Linked DNA regions of Homo sapiens: regions 2, 3, 4 and 5 are each linked to region 1. Evidence: promoter capture Hi-C in 16 types of primary human blood cells and fetal thymus (Javierre and others, 2016). All regions are on one chromosome and are shown on one strand. Each heading gives the region's core, a stretch centred on a gene start or on the middle of the fragment in contact. The rest is flanking DNA. Distances are from core to core; before and after follow the strand shown. Region 1 holds the start of TEAD2 (TEA domain transcription factor 2). Region 2 holds the start of GYS1 (glycogen synthase 1). Region 3 holds the start of TULP2 (TUB like protein 2). Region 4 holds the start of PRMT1 (protein arginine methyltransferase 1). Region 5 holds the start of NTF4 (neurotrophin 4).

What was found. Contacts are between HindIII fragments. The CHiCAGO score rates a contact against its expected background, and 5 or more counts as called.
Region 2: the fragment with the promoter of GYS1 here is called in contact with the fragment with the promoter of TEAD2 in region 1 in 4 of 17 cell types (M0 macrophages, endothelial precursors, M1 macrophages and 1 more); the score reaches 8.0 in M0 macrophages.
Region 3: the fragment with the promoter of TULP2 here is called in contact with the fragment with the promoter of TEAD2 in region 1 in 5 of 17 cell types (naive B cells, total B cells, naive CD8 T cells and 2 more); the score reaches 6.3 in naive B cells.
Region 4: the fragment with the promoter of PRMT1 here is called in contact with the fragment with the promoter of TEAD2 in region 1 in 10 of 17 cell types (naive CD8 T cells, naive CD4 T cells, total CD4 T cells and 7 more); the score reaches 15.7 in naive CD8 T cells.
Region 5: a contact is called between the fragment with the promoter of NTF4 here and the fragment with the promoter of TEAD2 in region 1, in 16 of 17 cell types (total B cells, total CD8 T cells, M0 macrophages and 13 more). The highest score is 12.8, in total B cells.

The regions. Positions count from the first base shown.
Region 1 is chr19:49,360,966-49,363,665 of GRCh38, reverse strand. It overlaps TEAD2 (TEA domain transcription factor 2), which reads left to right and starts at 1,250. Exons shown (of 13, transcript NM_001256660.2): 1 at 1,250-1,333. It also overlaps a transcript of DKKL1 not described here. RefSeq lists enhancers at 1,457-2,165, 2,166-2,700. The HindIII fragment of the contact is 6,430 bases long and covers 1-2,700 here.
Region 2 is chr19:48,991,923-48,994,622 of GRCh38, reverse strand. GYS1 (glycogen synthase 1) reads left to right here and starts at 1,314. Exons shown (of 16, transcript NM_002103.5): 1 at 1,314-1,628. The coding sequence starts at 1,511. RUVBL2 (RuvB like AAA ATPase 2) reads right to left here and starts at 736. Exons shown (of 15, transcript NM_006666.3): 1 at 700-736. The coding sequence starts at 711. RefSeq lists enhancers at 838-927, 1,618-1,757 and a silencer at 1,048-1,407. The HindIII fragment of the contact is 2,230 bases long and covers 1-1,402 here.
Region 3 is chr19:48,897,335-48,900,034 of GRCh38, reverse strand. It overlaps TULP2 (TUB like protein 2), which reads left to right and starts at 1,291. Exons shown (of 13, transcript NM_003323.3): 1 at 1,291-1,445; 2 at 2,166-2,198; 3 at 2,639-2,690. The coding sequence starts at 2,167. RefSeq lists a cis regulatory region at 547-1,546 and an enhancer at 1,081-1,896. The HindIII fragment of the contact is 14,951 bases long and covers 1-2,700 here.
Region 4 is chr19:49,675,863-49,678,562 of GRCh38, reverse strand. It overlaps PRMT1 (protein arginine methyltransferase 1), which reads right to left and starts at 1,292. Exons shown (of 11, transcript NM_001536.6): 1 at 1,247-1,292. The coding sequence starts at 1,282. RefSeq lists a silencer at 798-1,077 and enhancers at 922-1,653, 1,658-1,807. The HindIII fragment of the contact is 22,690 bases long and covers 1-1,626 here.
Region 5 is chr19:49,063,424-49,066,123 of GRCh38, reverse strand. It overlaps NTF4 (neurotrophin 4), which reads left to right and starts at 1,306. Exons shown (of 2, transcript NM_006179.5): 1 at 1,306-2,385. The HindIII fragment of the contact is 7,079 bases long and covers 1-2,700 here.

The DNA.
Region 1 (2,700 bases), core at 1-2,500:
CCCACGTCAGTTGACCTCAGTCCTGGAGACCAAGTCCTGGAAGTCCTGGCGGTGTTCTCTGATTGCGGCCCTCGTTTCGGAGTCCCGCCCAATCGCAATGGCCACGCCCCTTGGCTGAAAGCCACGCCCCTGCACTGGGCCACGCCCCTGCACTGGACCACGCCCCTGCGTCCCAGATCTTGCCCTCATCACCCCAAGTTCCAGTCCTAGGCTCCTCCTACTGGAGACACCGGAGTACAAGCATCCCTTTTAGCTCTCACTCTAATTGTGTATCTGTTTCGGAACCTTTTCTCCGTGTCCCTTCTGGTTTTCCCGCTCCCGCTCCACTAAAAAGTCCCGTTGTCTCCGGAAACCCTAAATCCAGTCTTATATTTCATCTTCCAAGGAACCCAGAATCAGACTTCCTTTTCCCTGAGGACCTCAGGTCCGGACTCCCGCCCCCTCTAGTCCCGTAATTTTGAACACGCAGCCTTTCACCCTTAAGGGACCGGGCCCTAAGCCATCTTCCCTCAGGCACCAAAGCTCTCTTCCCCGTCCCGGGACAGCCGCCAGCCGTCTCCAGTCCACTAGCGCCTGTAGATGAGGAATCTGCACCTACGTGGGCCTCCAATAAACTCCCGGTGGTCCTGCCCACGACTCTTAACTGTGGTGAGGTCACAAGGAAACCAGGTCGTCATAGGAATCAGTCAAAACCCATCCCCAGACCCCAATCCTCAAAAAAAAAAAAAAACAAAAAAAACAAAAAACAAAAAAACCAAAAACCAAACAGAAAAAAAGAAAAAAAACCTCAGGGCTTAACAGTAAAGACTCTTTGTATTCGTATCACTTCCGCACCCCCAATACACAAACACGAGGGTAGCCGGGATTCCAGGCGCCTAGCCCCGTCCCCTCTCAGACCTAGGAGCCCATATCTCTCTCCAGCCGCTTCCTCTCCCAGACCCAGGAGTCCCAGCCCCCAGACCCAGGAGTCCCAGCCCCCAGCCTCTCCTCCCTCAGATCAGGGGTTTCTGGCTCCTATCAGCCTTTTCCCTCCGACTTGGAGTCCGAACCCCCAATCCCCCTCCTTTCCCAAGCACCCAAATCCTGAGTTCCTACCAGCCCCGAGATAGACTAATCTCTCCCAAAGCAAAAATCCTTCCCCAAACTGTCACCGTCGGATCCCCCTTCCCGCTGTCCGCCGGCCGGGCCCGCCCCCCCCTCCGGTCCCTCCCACTTTTCCCAAACAAAGCTCCCGGCAACTTTCTCCCTCGCAGCGCCCCGCCCGCCCGCGGCTCCCCAGCCCCAGGCCGGGAGGTAGGAAGGCGCCGGCGGGAGTCGGGGATCCTGCTTTGGGGTGTGTGAGTTGGGGTGGGGAGTTGCTTCTTAGGAGGTGAGGCGTGCGTTTGCGGGACCGTCTCTGAATGGTTCGCAGCCCTCTTTTTGCCCGGGGGCCCGAATTTGCTCCCGTGACCGAGCCTCAGTGAGGAGTGGGAACTCTGGCCGGAGTTAGGGTGCCTGCGGCTGGGTCTGAGTTTGGGCGTGCGCGCAGGAGCGGGTGCGGGCCAAGGGCGCTGGCGGGGTGTGGGGCGTGCGTCTGCGGCGGTGTCACTTTGGAGTGAGAAGGACCCCTTGTGTAATCTGGGGGGCATTTGGTCCTTCTTACGGAGAAGGGAGGGCCTCTGGGGTGGCCGAGGGGAGGTTACGGGGCTTTCTGGATCTTAAGTCTTGCCTCTTTGGAGGTTTAGGGTCTGGGGCGGGAAATTAGGGGGACCTTTCTTACCCGGCTCCACCGTCCCTTTGTCTGGCCACATGGGGAAGGGCTGGGCTGGGATTTTGGCCTACGGGGGTCCTGAACGCCGCAGCGCCACTGGGCTTGGCTGGGGTCTTTGTCTGCTATGGTCGGCGGGAGGAGGGGAATAGGGGCCTGGACTCTGGGGTCCTGGGAAAGCTGTGGAGGACATGGAGCCTCCGGGGAGGCGGGATCTGACTGTATTGGAAAAAGTTTTCCCTGTTCCCGGCCTCCGGAAAGTCACTGGGAACTTGAGTTGGATCAGAGCCCACGGCGCACGGGGGAGGGGAGGGGCGGGGCCCGGTGCCGGAGGGGAGTCGCCCTGGCCGGCAAGCCCCTCCCCTGATGGGGGTTGTGGGAAGCTGGGGGAGGGGACGCCTGGGCCCTTTGTTCTGGCTCTTCTGATGGCAGGGCGCCCCTGTCCCCCAGCTTGTGGTTCTGTGGGTCTCTCCTGGTCTCGGCCTCAGCTGCTGCCCTGAGTCTCTGTCCCTGCCCTTTCTAGGTCTCCGTCTCCCTTTCTCTGGGTCTCTGTTGCCCTCTCTCTGAGCCTCTGTCCCCCTCTCTCTGAGTCTGTGTCCCCCTCTCTCTGGGTCTCTGGTCCCCTCTCTCTCTGGGTCTCTGTCCCTCTCTCTCTGGGTCTCTGTCCCCCTCTCTCTGGGTCTCTGTCACCCTCTCTCTCTGGGTCTCTGTCTCCCTCTCTGGGCCTCTGGACCCCTCTCTCTGGTCCCTGTCCCCCCCCCCCGGTCTCTGTCCCCCTCTTTCTGGTCTCTGTCTCCCCCTCTCCCTGGGTCTCTGTCTCCCTCTCTTTTTGGGTCTCTGTCCCTCTCTCTGGGTCTCTGTCCCCCTCTCTGGTCTCTGTCCCCCCCTCCCTCTGGTCTCTGTCCCCCCCTCCCTCTGGTCTCTGTCCCCCTCTCTCTCTGGGTCTCTGTCCC
Region 2 (2,700 bases), core at 65-2,564, 370 kb after region 1:
TGAGCAGGTGCCAGGCCAAGTTTCCTGGCCTCTCCTTCATTCACATGTATTCATTCATTCAAATATTCAAGTGATAATTTATTGAGCATTTACACTGAGACGTAGCCCGTGTGAAATACTGGAAATATGAAAATGGCCAAAACGGTAGCATGACAAGATCCCGATTTCTGGGTCCCTAATCCTTCAGTCCTCTCCACTAAGACTCTCTTGTTCCTCGACAATTTCTTCCCACTAAAGGCTCACTAGGCGCCCTCGCGCTCTCAGACACACTGAACAGGTACCTGCCTGTGCTTCCAGCTTGGAACTCAAGTGCCATTGGCACCACTAACAATCCAAGGCTCCCAAATGGCTCGAAGCGCAAGGTCCTACAACCCTCCTCATCACACACTGGCGCCAAGGACTGCGGAACCGGCCGTTGCGCCAAGATGATTTTGAAAGTTGGAGTTCCTATAGCATGATGGGGCCAGACCCGAGATTCTGGGATCCCAGCCCCCTCCCCGCCTCAGATCCAGAAGTCCAGCCCCCATGTCCCCTTCTCCCCCAGATCTGGGTGGCCGAGCTTCCTCCTCTTTCAGACCCAGGAGTCTGAACCCCCAGATCCCCCCTCCCTCAGACCCAGGAGTCAGGGCCTCCAGCATCCTCCTCTCTCAAACTCGAGACTGCTAGCTCGCTCCTCACCCTCCATGCACCCACACTTACAACGGTTGCCATGATGCTCACCAACTGCCAGAGTCCTAGCGGAAACGGAAACGCGCGAGGAGCGAGATGTTCTGGCTCCTCTAGGCTAGCTGGTTCTTCAAAGATCTCGATGGTTCCTCATAAATATGTAAATATTGTGGGGGCGTGGCGGGACTTTATGCCCCGCCCTCCCACCGAGGCTGCGCTGGAAGACGGGCGTCCGGAACTCCTGGGTCCATTCCCAATGTCTCCTGGCTCCTCCTCCTTTTGCTCAGCCCCACCACCGCCCCGCTCAGGCCGATTGCAAAATTCTTAGCTGTTCTTTGAGTAACCACACGTCCTCCACGCTCCTTTCCTCTTTATCCCACCCTCCTCCTCCTCCCCACTTTGAGGCCTCCAGCTCCAGATTGACAGAGCTGAAGGCCACTCGTTTCCGTAAAGCGCAGCGGCAAGCTCCGCCCCCTGGAGGTCTCACGGCCGAGGCGGGGCCGGGACACAGCGACTCCAACCCGTTCCACCAATGAGGACACGCGGAAATCCCCGCCCCCGGGCGTGGGCCAATGGCGCTGGCTGGGGGGGGCGGCCACCGCCTCCTGGCGGCTGCGAGGTTTCACTGCAGGGGCGCCAGTGGGCTCAGTGACGCTGCGGCCTCCTTCTGCCTAGGTCCCAACGCTTCGGGGCAGGGGTGCGGTCTTGCAATAGGAAGCCGAGCGTCTTGCAAGCTTCCCGTCGGGCACCAGCTACTCGGCCCCGCACCCTACCTGGTGCATTCCCTAGACACCTCCGGGGTCCCTACCTGGAGATCCCCGGAGCCCCCCTTCCTGCGCCAGCCATGCCTTTAAACCGCACTTTGTCCATGTCCTCACTGCCAGGACTGGAGGACTGGGAGGATGAATTCGACCTGGAGAACGCAGTGCTCTTCGAAGTGGCCTGGGAGGTGGCTAACAAGGGTGAGCACGCCAGGCGTCGGGGCCCTTGACGAGAAGGACAGTAGTGGATGGGGGCCCGGAACTCTGAGTTGTAGGAGGACGGGGCTACTAGGGGAACCCTTGTGACCTGGGCAAGGAGGCTGTGTCCTTGAGGAGGGGCTGGGAAGCCGGAGGTGGGTGGGAGAGGGATGGTTCGTTTGACTTAAGATGAAAGGAGGCTGGAAGCCCGGGTTCTGGGTCCTAGGGAAGAGGGCGCTAAAATGAGACTCCTAGGTCCTGGAGGCAGGCTTCCGAGAGACTAGATACCTGGGTCCTGAACAGGGAAGGGGATGGGGGGATGGGATTTCTGCGTGCAAACCTGGGAAGCTGCCGGGGTTTCAGACCTATGACCCTAACAGCATGGTCTAGGGGATAAAACTCCAGATTTGAGAGAGAGCTGACTGGGAGATAGGAGGCCTGAGCGGCGGTGGGAGGACCTGAGGATCTGGCTGCTTAAGAATAAAGATGGGACGGGCTGGAGACTGTAATGAATGCCTGGGCTTTGAAGGAGCTGAGGGCCTGAGCTATTAGTTCCTAGGAGTAGAGGAGCCCATGGCCTGGGACACATGCGTACTGGAATAGGGGAAGGCTGGGAAGTCCTAAGTTAGTCAGAGGCTGGGCCCTAGGATGGGAGGGGCTAGGAGCCTGCATTTCTGTGTCTTGGGCTTCAGAAAGCTGAGGTTCTGGCCTTGGAGAAGGCTGGGGCTGAAATCCCCAGGAACAAGCCAATCTCACACCTCAAAGAGCAGGGTCTGGGGGGTTGCTTTGCTGGGTCTTGGAGGAGAAAGGGACTGTGTCTCCCAGGAGGAGAGGGGGCCCGTGAACACCCAGCCGGGTATCGCCAGGGCCTGGGCTCCAGGATGGGAGGAGGCTGGGGGCTGGGGCTCCTGGGTCTGGGATAGGGTCATGGGAGAGGCAGAGCCCTGCATGCTGGTGTCCCTAGTCAGGGAGAGGAAATTGGGAGGCAGGTCAGCAAGGTCCCTGGGGGCAGGGAATGACCATGCAGGCTTCTCTTGGGCAATGGTGAGAAGCTGGATTGGCCATGAGGGGGTCT
Region 3 (2,700 bases), core at 42-2,541, 460 kb after region 1:
TTCGCCTCATGGGAGCTGTAGTTTTCCCATTTATTTTCGCCCCACGAAGTGCCTGGAAGTTATAGCGCGGTAGCAATTGCATAGCCTTTCTTATGAGTTTCTTTCTTCTTCTTCTTATTATTCGAGACAGGGTTTGCTCTGTCACCCAGGTTGGAGTGCAGTGGCGCAATCACTTCTCACTGCAGCCTCTACCTCCCAGGCCCAAGCAATCCTCCCGCGTCAGCCTCCCAAGTAGATGGGACCACAGGCCACACTACCATGCCTGGCTAATGTATATTTTTTAAATTTTTAATACAAATATTTAAATCTTTAATTCTTTTTTAGCCTTTTTTTTTTTTTAACGTTCTGTCTTTCACACTTCTCACACTTTGTTGTTGTTGTTTTTTAAAGAGACGGATGTCAAGCCGGGCTTGGGGGTTCACTCCTGTAATCCCAGCACTTTGGGAGGCTGAGGCAGGCAGATCACCTGAGGTCAAGGGTTTGAGACCAGCCTGGCCAACATGGAGAAACCTCGCCTCCACTAAAAATACAAATTAGCCAGGCGTGGTTGCGCATGCCTGTAATCCCAGCTACTCAGGAAGCTGAGGCAGGACAATCTCTTAAACCCGGGAGGCGGAGGTTGCAGTGAGCCGAGATCGCGCCACTGCACTCCAGCCTGGGCGACAGAGTGAGACTACGTCTCAAAAAAAAAAAAAAATCTCTGTGTTGCTGGTCTGGATCTGGATCTCCTGGACTCAAGCAATCTTGCCTCCCCGTCTCCGCCTCCCAAAGTGCTGGGATTACAGGCGTGAGCCACTGCGCCCCGCCTCTTTTAAGTTTCTTGTAAGCGAGATGTGTACAGTGAGGCCGCGAGGTCTCTGGTCTCCCGCTCTCTCTCTCTCTTTTTTTTTTTTTTTTTGAGACGGTGTCTACCTCTGTCACACAGGCTGGAGTGCAGTGGCGCGATCTCAGCTCACTGCGAGCTCCGCCTCCCGGGTTCACGCCATTCTCCTGCCTCAGCCTCCCGAGTAGCTGGGACTACAGGCGCCCGCCCGCCACAACGCCCGGCTAATTTTTTTGTGTATATATATATATTTTTTTTTAGTAGAGACGGGGATTCACCATGTTAGCCAGGATGGTCTAGATCTCCTGACCCCGTGATCCGCCCGCCTCGGCCTCCCAAAGTGCTGGGATTACAGGCGTGAGCCACCGCGCCGGGCCGGTCTCTGGTCTCTTTAAGGAACCCCCACACGGCATTCGTGTTCAGAACCCCCGGAGCAGGGTTGCCTGGCTGCATCAGTGACCGAGTTCGTTACTTTGTTGGAAGTGGAGAGTGGAGGGTCAGAAGGGAGTGGACCAGTTCAGGTCCCAGAGGGAATCCTCCCTCCCTCTGAGCCGTCTTTCTTCTCCTCCCTATTTCGCAGATATCCCGAGATTAGGTCCCCAGCTTCCAAAGAGAGGATCAGGTATGTTTAGAGATTGGCCAGAGAGGCAAGGTACCGAGGCATCAATGTGAGCAGCCTCTCCAGGCACCTGGTGAGGAGAACAAGTCTCCCGGATCCCAGGCAGGTGGGCAGTGGAGTTCTAGGCCGCTGGGGGCTGGGTGTTTGAAGTGCACAGTCCTGAGTTCTGATGCCTGGGTGCTGGAGAATTAGATATTTGGGGGAGAGAGAAGCGGACTTGCGGACCCCCGTGGGAAGCTGGAAACAGGCTACTAGATCCCGACAGGAGTGGGTGCTGGGATTCGGGCTGCCTGGGTCCGGAAGCAAATTTAAAGGTAAGGATCAGGCCGGGCACTGTGGCTCATGCCTGTAATCCTAGCACTTTGGAAGGCCAAGGCGGGCAGATCACCTGAGGTCAGGAGTCCGGCACCAGCCTGGCCAACATAGTGAAAACCGGTATCTACTAAAATACAAAAAAATTAGGCAGAATAGCGGACGCCTGTAGTCCCAGCTACTCGGGAGGCTGAGGCAGGAGAATCGCTTGAACCCAGGAGGTGGAGGTTGCAGTGGCCGAGATGGCGCCACTGCACTGCAGCCTGGGCGACAGAGCGAGGCTCAGCTGTCTCTAAATACATAAATAAATAAATAAATAAATAAATAAATAAGGCTAAAGATTAGGTGCTGGTGGGCAGGATCCATTGGGATGTTGGTTCTGATCCTGACTCCTCATTCTTGCTTCTGCAGAATGTCTCAGGATAATGACACATTGATGAGAGAGTGAGTAGGGAAACAGATGGGTAGGGGTGGAGGTGGAAAGGGCTGGGGACCCCGTGCACTCGGCTCTGGCTTCATAACCATGTTTGCAGGTTCAGCACCATCGGCCTTGCAGGAAGGGGCTGGGGACCTGGACTCCTGTGTCCTGAAGGGATGGGGCTAGGGTGCAGACTTCTGGGTCTGAAAGAGAAGGGGTTGGGGGCCCCAGACTCCTGAATCCTGAGACAGGAGGGACCTGGGATCTCTGGGTCCCGGCTTCTGTGGGCCAGTGCCAGGAGAAAGGGCCCTATAACTGGTGGAGCAGGCTCAGGTTCTGCACCTCCTGTGACCTCACAGGTGCCCAGAACCCAAGCTGAGATAGGGGCAGGATGGGGGAAGGAGGGACTCTCTTGGGCAACCGAGGTTCCCTGTGCACTGTCACCATGGGCCTGTGTCTCTCTCAGCATCCTGGGGCATGAGCTCGCTGCTATGAGGCTGCAGAAGCTGGAACAGCAGGTATTGTGCC
Region 4 (2,700 bases), core at 43-2,542, 310 kb before region 1:
GACCTACTAGGCTCCAAGCACCCTCCCTCCAGCTCTCCCAAGCTAGCGGGGATGCCTATAAGAAGAAAGGTGCTGAGGGGGTTTCCCACTCGGGCCTATTTCTCAATACCACTGAAAACTACCGCCAGACAACCCCAGCCCCAGAGGGCTTGAAACGCAAGACTGAAACCTCCCCCACATGGCTGCACGAGAACCAAACCTCACTCGAAACCATTTCAGGCACCCACTCTCAGGACCCCAGGGCTCAGGACCCTGCACAGGGCTTCAGGAAGAAGGAGGTCATCTCGCACCCTCACAAAGACCCGGGGGAGATAAACGGCTCCAGTAGGGTAAAGCTCTCAGCCTACATATTTCCCACAACTCCTTCCCAGCGGACATACCCTCCTCCCTCCGCCCGCCAGGAAGAAATCCGAGGGGAGGTGGGCTTCAGGACACGCCCCATGAAAAAGATGTCCCTCCCACACACCCAGAAATGGCCACAAGGGGGTGCACGGCGCCTATTAATGGGAAAATCTCTATCTAGATGCCCCACCACCACCCAGAGGGAGGTCACAGGGGCATGCCCCATCCCCCAACTCCTAAAGCCCTGGGCGAGGGGGAGAATTCTGGGAGGGGAAACGGGGTCGGCGGGGGACCCCATTCTTGGTTTTCCTCCAGTCCCTAACCCAGAACGCACAAAACCGGGTCCGATATCCCAACAGATGCCCCCGGAGCTCGGAAGGAGGTTGGTAAAGGGCTGAGAAGCACTGCTCCTCCCAAGAGACTCCCCACATCGTGGAGGGCCCCAGGTCGATCACACCCCACGGCGTGTGCCCAGGTCCCCGGGGAGGAGGGCTGGGGGCGTCAGGAGGGTCGGACCCCCTCCCCGCCCCCCTGGGCGCCCCTCCCCGGCCGGGGGCGGGGCCTTTGTCCCGCACGTGGAGCCCGCCGGGCCACTGGACTCGGCACACCCCCTCCCCACCCACCGCGCAGCGGCCACGTGGGGGCCTGGCCGGAAGCGCCCCCAGCCCTCCTCCACGTGGGAGGGGGGATAAGACCCTCCGCTAGGCCGGATGCCGAAGGCCCTTGGAAGCTAGGGAGCCGTCACCTCAAACGATATCCCCGGATGTGGAACGTGCGGCGCCCCCGTGTGCGGCGGGGGACCTCCAACCCCATATCGCCAACTTAGAGCCCTTTCCCCACCACAGAGGCGTGAAACACCGACCCAAAGCCGCCTCCCGCCCACGGCGGCGCTCCAAGCGCTCACCTCCATGATGCAGTTCGCGGCCTCGGCTGCCGCCATCTTCACCCGCACCTACTCCTCCTCCGGCCGCCAAGACCCCCCCTTTCTCCTCACTCCCCCGGGACCGCCTTATACCAGAGGGTCCACGGCCCGCCTACCGCGACCCCGCTGGAAGATTTCATTGGCAATGGAGGCGGCCCGTCTGAGAATACCGTCTAGTAATTGGCTAGAGAATACGTCCATCATAGGTCAGGGGTTTGCCAACTCTGGCGTCCAGAATCCCGCCCCCTCAAGTCGACCCGGGATGGGGAAAACTGCCCGTCTATTGCAAGAAGCGCGACTGGTGATTGGGCAAAATCCACCAGGAATGCCCTCCCCTTTACACCCAGCACCGCCTCAAAGCTTCCCGGGGAGCCCCGCGCTAAAGGGGCGTCTTGAAACACCTGTCCATCACCAAAACGACCCGCCTCCTAATCGCTGCCATTGGTTTATCCGGAAGCGACGTCACGCAGCCTTTGGCCCACCCTCGCCAAGCGGCCGGCCTCAAGGAGAACACGGCAATTGGCCCACGGGTAGGGAAGAAGGCGGGGCTTCAGGCACCAACGATTGGCTCAAAGGAATTATCACTCCTCGTCCACTCGGTGGATCCTCCCAACCCGGGGGGAGTCTGGAGGAAAAAGGGAGCTTGTGCTCATTACCTGGGGGAAAAACGGAATCGGTGAGAGGCCCAGAGAGAGGAAGGGCATAGCTGGGGTCCCGAAGCAAGTGAGGAATAGGAGTCCGTCGTCAACACATTAAATCCCTAGCCCTTGACATAATCATTCCAAGTTTTTTAAAACCATCAACCCCTCTCAAGCCACTTGGTTTTTGCCAAGTCCCTCCCCCTGCCAGGAACGCCCACCTCTCTTTGTCTGGTCAGCTTCTAAACGTGAATCAGAGCACAGCTTAGGCACCACTTCCTCCGGGAAGCTTTCCTTGATTTGCAGAAAAAGTTCCTAGTTGAATGAAGCTGAATGCAAAGGGCCGAATGCGTGGGTCCTGCCCCTCCTCTCCCCGATCCCTCTACTTCCCTCTGCTCACACTTCTCTCCAATCCCGGAATGAGCTCGCTCTTTGGTTTCTGGGCCTCCGCGCAGGCTATACTCTCTGGCGTGCCGCTGGCAAACGCCTGAGACTTAAAATTTACAATAGGGTTCGGGCGCGATGGCTCACGGGTGTAATTCCAGCACTTTAGGAGGCGGAGGCAGGCGGATCACTTGACATCAGGAGTTCGAGACCAGTCTGGGCAACATGGTGAAACCCCCATTTCTATTAAAAATACAAAAATTACGCCAGGCGGCCGGGCGCGGTGGCTCACGCCTGTAATCCCAGCATTTTGGGAGACCGAGGCGGGCGGATCACAAGGTCAGGAGGTCGAGACCATCCTGGCTAACATGGTGAAACCCCCGTCTCTACTAAAAATACAAAAAATTAGCCGGG
Region 5 (2,700 bases), core at 57-2,556, 300 kb after region 1:
GTGGGATGACCCTCGAGGCAGGTGTCAGTTTTCCTTCTGAAAATAGCGCAGGCGGAGGGGAGCGGAGTCTCAGGGTAGAGGTGTGGTGGGGTGAGGAGCCCCGCTGCCCTCATGACTGTCCTGAGACACTCCGGCTCCGGTCCCATCCCTGTCTTTCTCAGGGTCTCTCAGGGGCTCTGTCCCCTTCTCGGGGGGGTGGGGGGGTCTGCCCTCACGCTCTCTGGGCCTCTGTCTTCTCTCTGGGCTCCTGCCCTCCCCCACTCTCTCTAGTCTCGGTCCCCCTCTTTCTTTTGGTCTCTCCCCACTTTTCCATGTCTTCTCCCTATCTCTCCCTTCATGTCACCGCGCACCATTTCTCAAGGTAGCTGATTGTTCTTAAGACACATCTGTCTATCTCTGGTCCTATGATACCTTGCACGTCTCTTATCTGAGCTCAGGACAAGACCTTCTCCCCGGTCCCCAGCCAGGAAATTCCAGGGGAGAGGAGTATGCGGGAGCCCCCACATCCACTGTCTCCCCGGGCCTGGGGCCTTATCACTGCCCAAGCCCAGCTGGTTAATGTCTGGCGTGGAGCTCCTGGGAAGTGGGGAGGAGAGCAGAGGGTGGGAATCTGCCCCGGGATTGACACGCAATTGGCAAAAGACGGCAAAGGAATCTCAGGCCCAGACTCCTGGGGCTAATGGAGGAGGAGGCTGGGGGCTGGACTCCTGAGTCTGAGACGGGGCGGGGTTGGGAGGTGGTGGGGGGAACTGTGGGCTTAGTACTCAGGCGCCTGGGGCTGGGGGGAGAGGTGGCTGGGGTCGCAAGTCCTGGGTCTGAGGGAGGAGGGGCCGGATGCCTGGACTCCTGGGTCTGAAGGGAGGAGGGGCTGGGGGCCTGGACTGCTAGGTCCAAAGGAGGAGGCAGCTGGAAACTGGGACTCCTGTGACCAAGGCGGCCGCGTTGAACGAGCCAGGCCTGGCTTCCAAGGTCCCGGCACGCGAGTGCAAGGCAGGATCCCCCGGCCCCTCCTCTGCCGCCCGGCGCCGCCCCGCCCCCGCCCCCGACCCGGGCCCTGCGGAGCGTGAGCAGCTAGCACCCGGCGGGCCAGCGAGCGTCCCTGCAGCCAGCGAGCAGGAGGAGGAGCTGCTGCCGGGCGGAGGGCAGCCGCGGGAGCCGAAGAGGGCGCCCCAGGTAAGATCTCCACTCCTCCTCCCTCGGGATTCCGGCGTCCTGGTCGCCCTGCCCTCGGGTGGGGAGGGACGGGGGCGGGGCCGACCGGGGCGGGGCTTGGCGGAGGAAACTGAGGCAAGAGGGAAGTGTCCCAGATATGCAGCCGGTTTCCCCTGAGGGGTCTCGGAGTCCGGAACCCCCAACCCAAATCTGGAGGATGAGGAACCCGGAGTCTGCATTTCTTAGTATCCGAGAAGGAGGGGCCTGAATTCCAGAACTCCTGGGTCTGAGAGAGGAGGGCACTGGGGGCCTGGATTCCTGGGTCTGAGGGAGAAGGGCGCTGGGGGCATGGACTCCTGGGTCTGAAGGAGGAGGGCGCTGGGGACCTGGACTCCAGGGTCTGAGGGAGAAGGGTGCTGGGGGCCTGGGCCTGGACTCCTCCTGGGTCTGAGGGAGAAGGGTGCTGGGGGCCTGGACTTCTGGGTCTGAGAGAGGAGGGCGCTGGGGGCCTGGACTACTCCTGGGTCTGAGGGAGGAGGGCGCTGGGGATCTGAACTCCTGGGTCTGAAGGTGGAGGCCCTGGGGTCTGCACTACTCGGTCTGAGGGAGAAGGCGGTCCTGGTTGGGTCAGCCTGGGCTCCTTTCACTCTCCACCCTTCCCCTTTCCTGTACCGAGGAGCCAGGGCAGGCAGCCACTCCAGGTATGTGCAGAAGTCTTGGGCGGGCCCTGGCCTGTCCTGTGAGGAGGGAACATTCCAGGAAGCAGCTTGGGGAACCAGGGCTTCTTGAGTGTGGGCCCTCAGGGACCCGGGTGTCCAGGCCAGTTCCGCCCCATCTGGGAGATGAATGGGCCGAGGGGGATGTAATCTCTTCCAGCCTCCTTCATCCACTGCCTCTCCCTTCCCCTATTCTCCCTTCCCCTCCCTCCATCTGCTTCCCATCCCAGCCAGGAGCCATCACCTGGGTAGAAAAGGGGCCTCTGGAAAGGGGGCGGGGCCTTGACTCTTGGGTACCCTGCACTTGAAGAGGAACTCTGGGAAGGGGTTGTTCAGGGATTTGGCCCCTTCCCCACCTGCCTCTATAACCTGTCTATTCTTTTCTTCCCCTAGGTGGTTGCCCCCTCCCTCTCCTGAGATGTCAGGAAGGAGGGGGCCACCTGTGTCCTCCACAGGGGCCCCCCGAAGCCTGGGGACTCCCAGCCCCAGAGCTCCGAGGCGGAGGAGGTGCTGACAGGTCTGGTAACTACTGACTGTTTCCCAGTCTTCTCCACGCCACCCTTTCCCAGAACCACAGGCTTCCAGAATGTTGTAGGGAAACTGCAAAATCCGCGCCTCCACCAGCCTCTCCCAGCGCCAGGTCAATTTCACACACAGGGAAACTGAAGCCTGCCTCAGAGGGGCAGCGTTTTACCTCCTTAGTGGCAGTTTTGAGGTGAACTGGGGTCTCCCTAGGATTCCAGGTTGTGACCTTTCTCTAAATTGTGGAATGTGGCCAGGCGTGGTGGCTTGAGTCTGTAGTCCCAGCTACTCAGGAGGCTGAGGCAGGAGA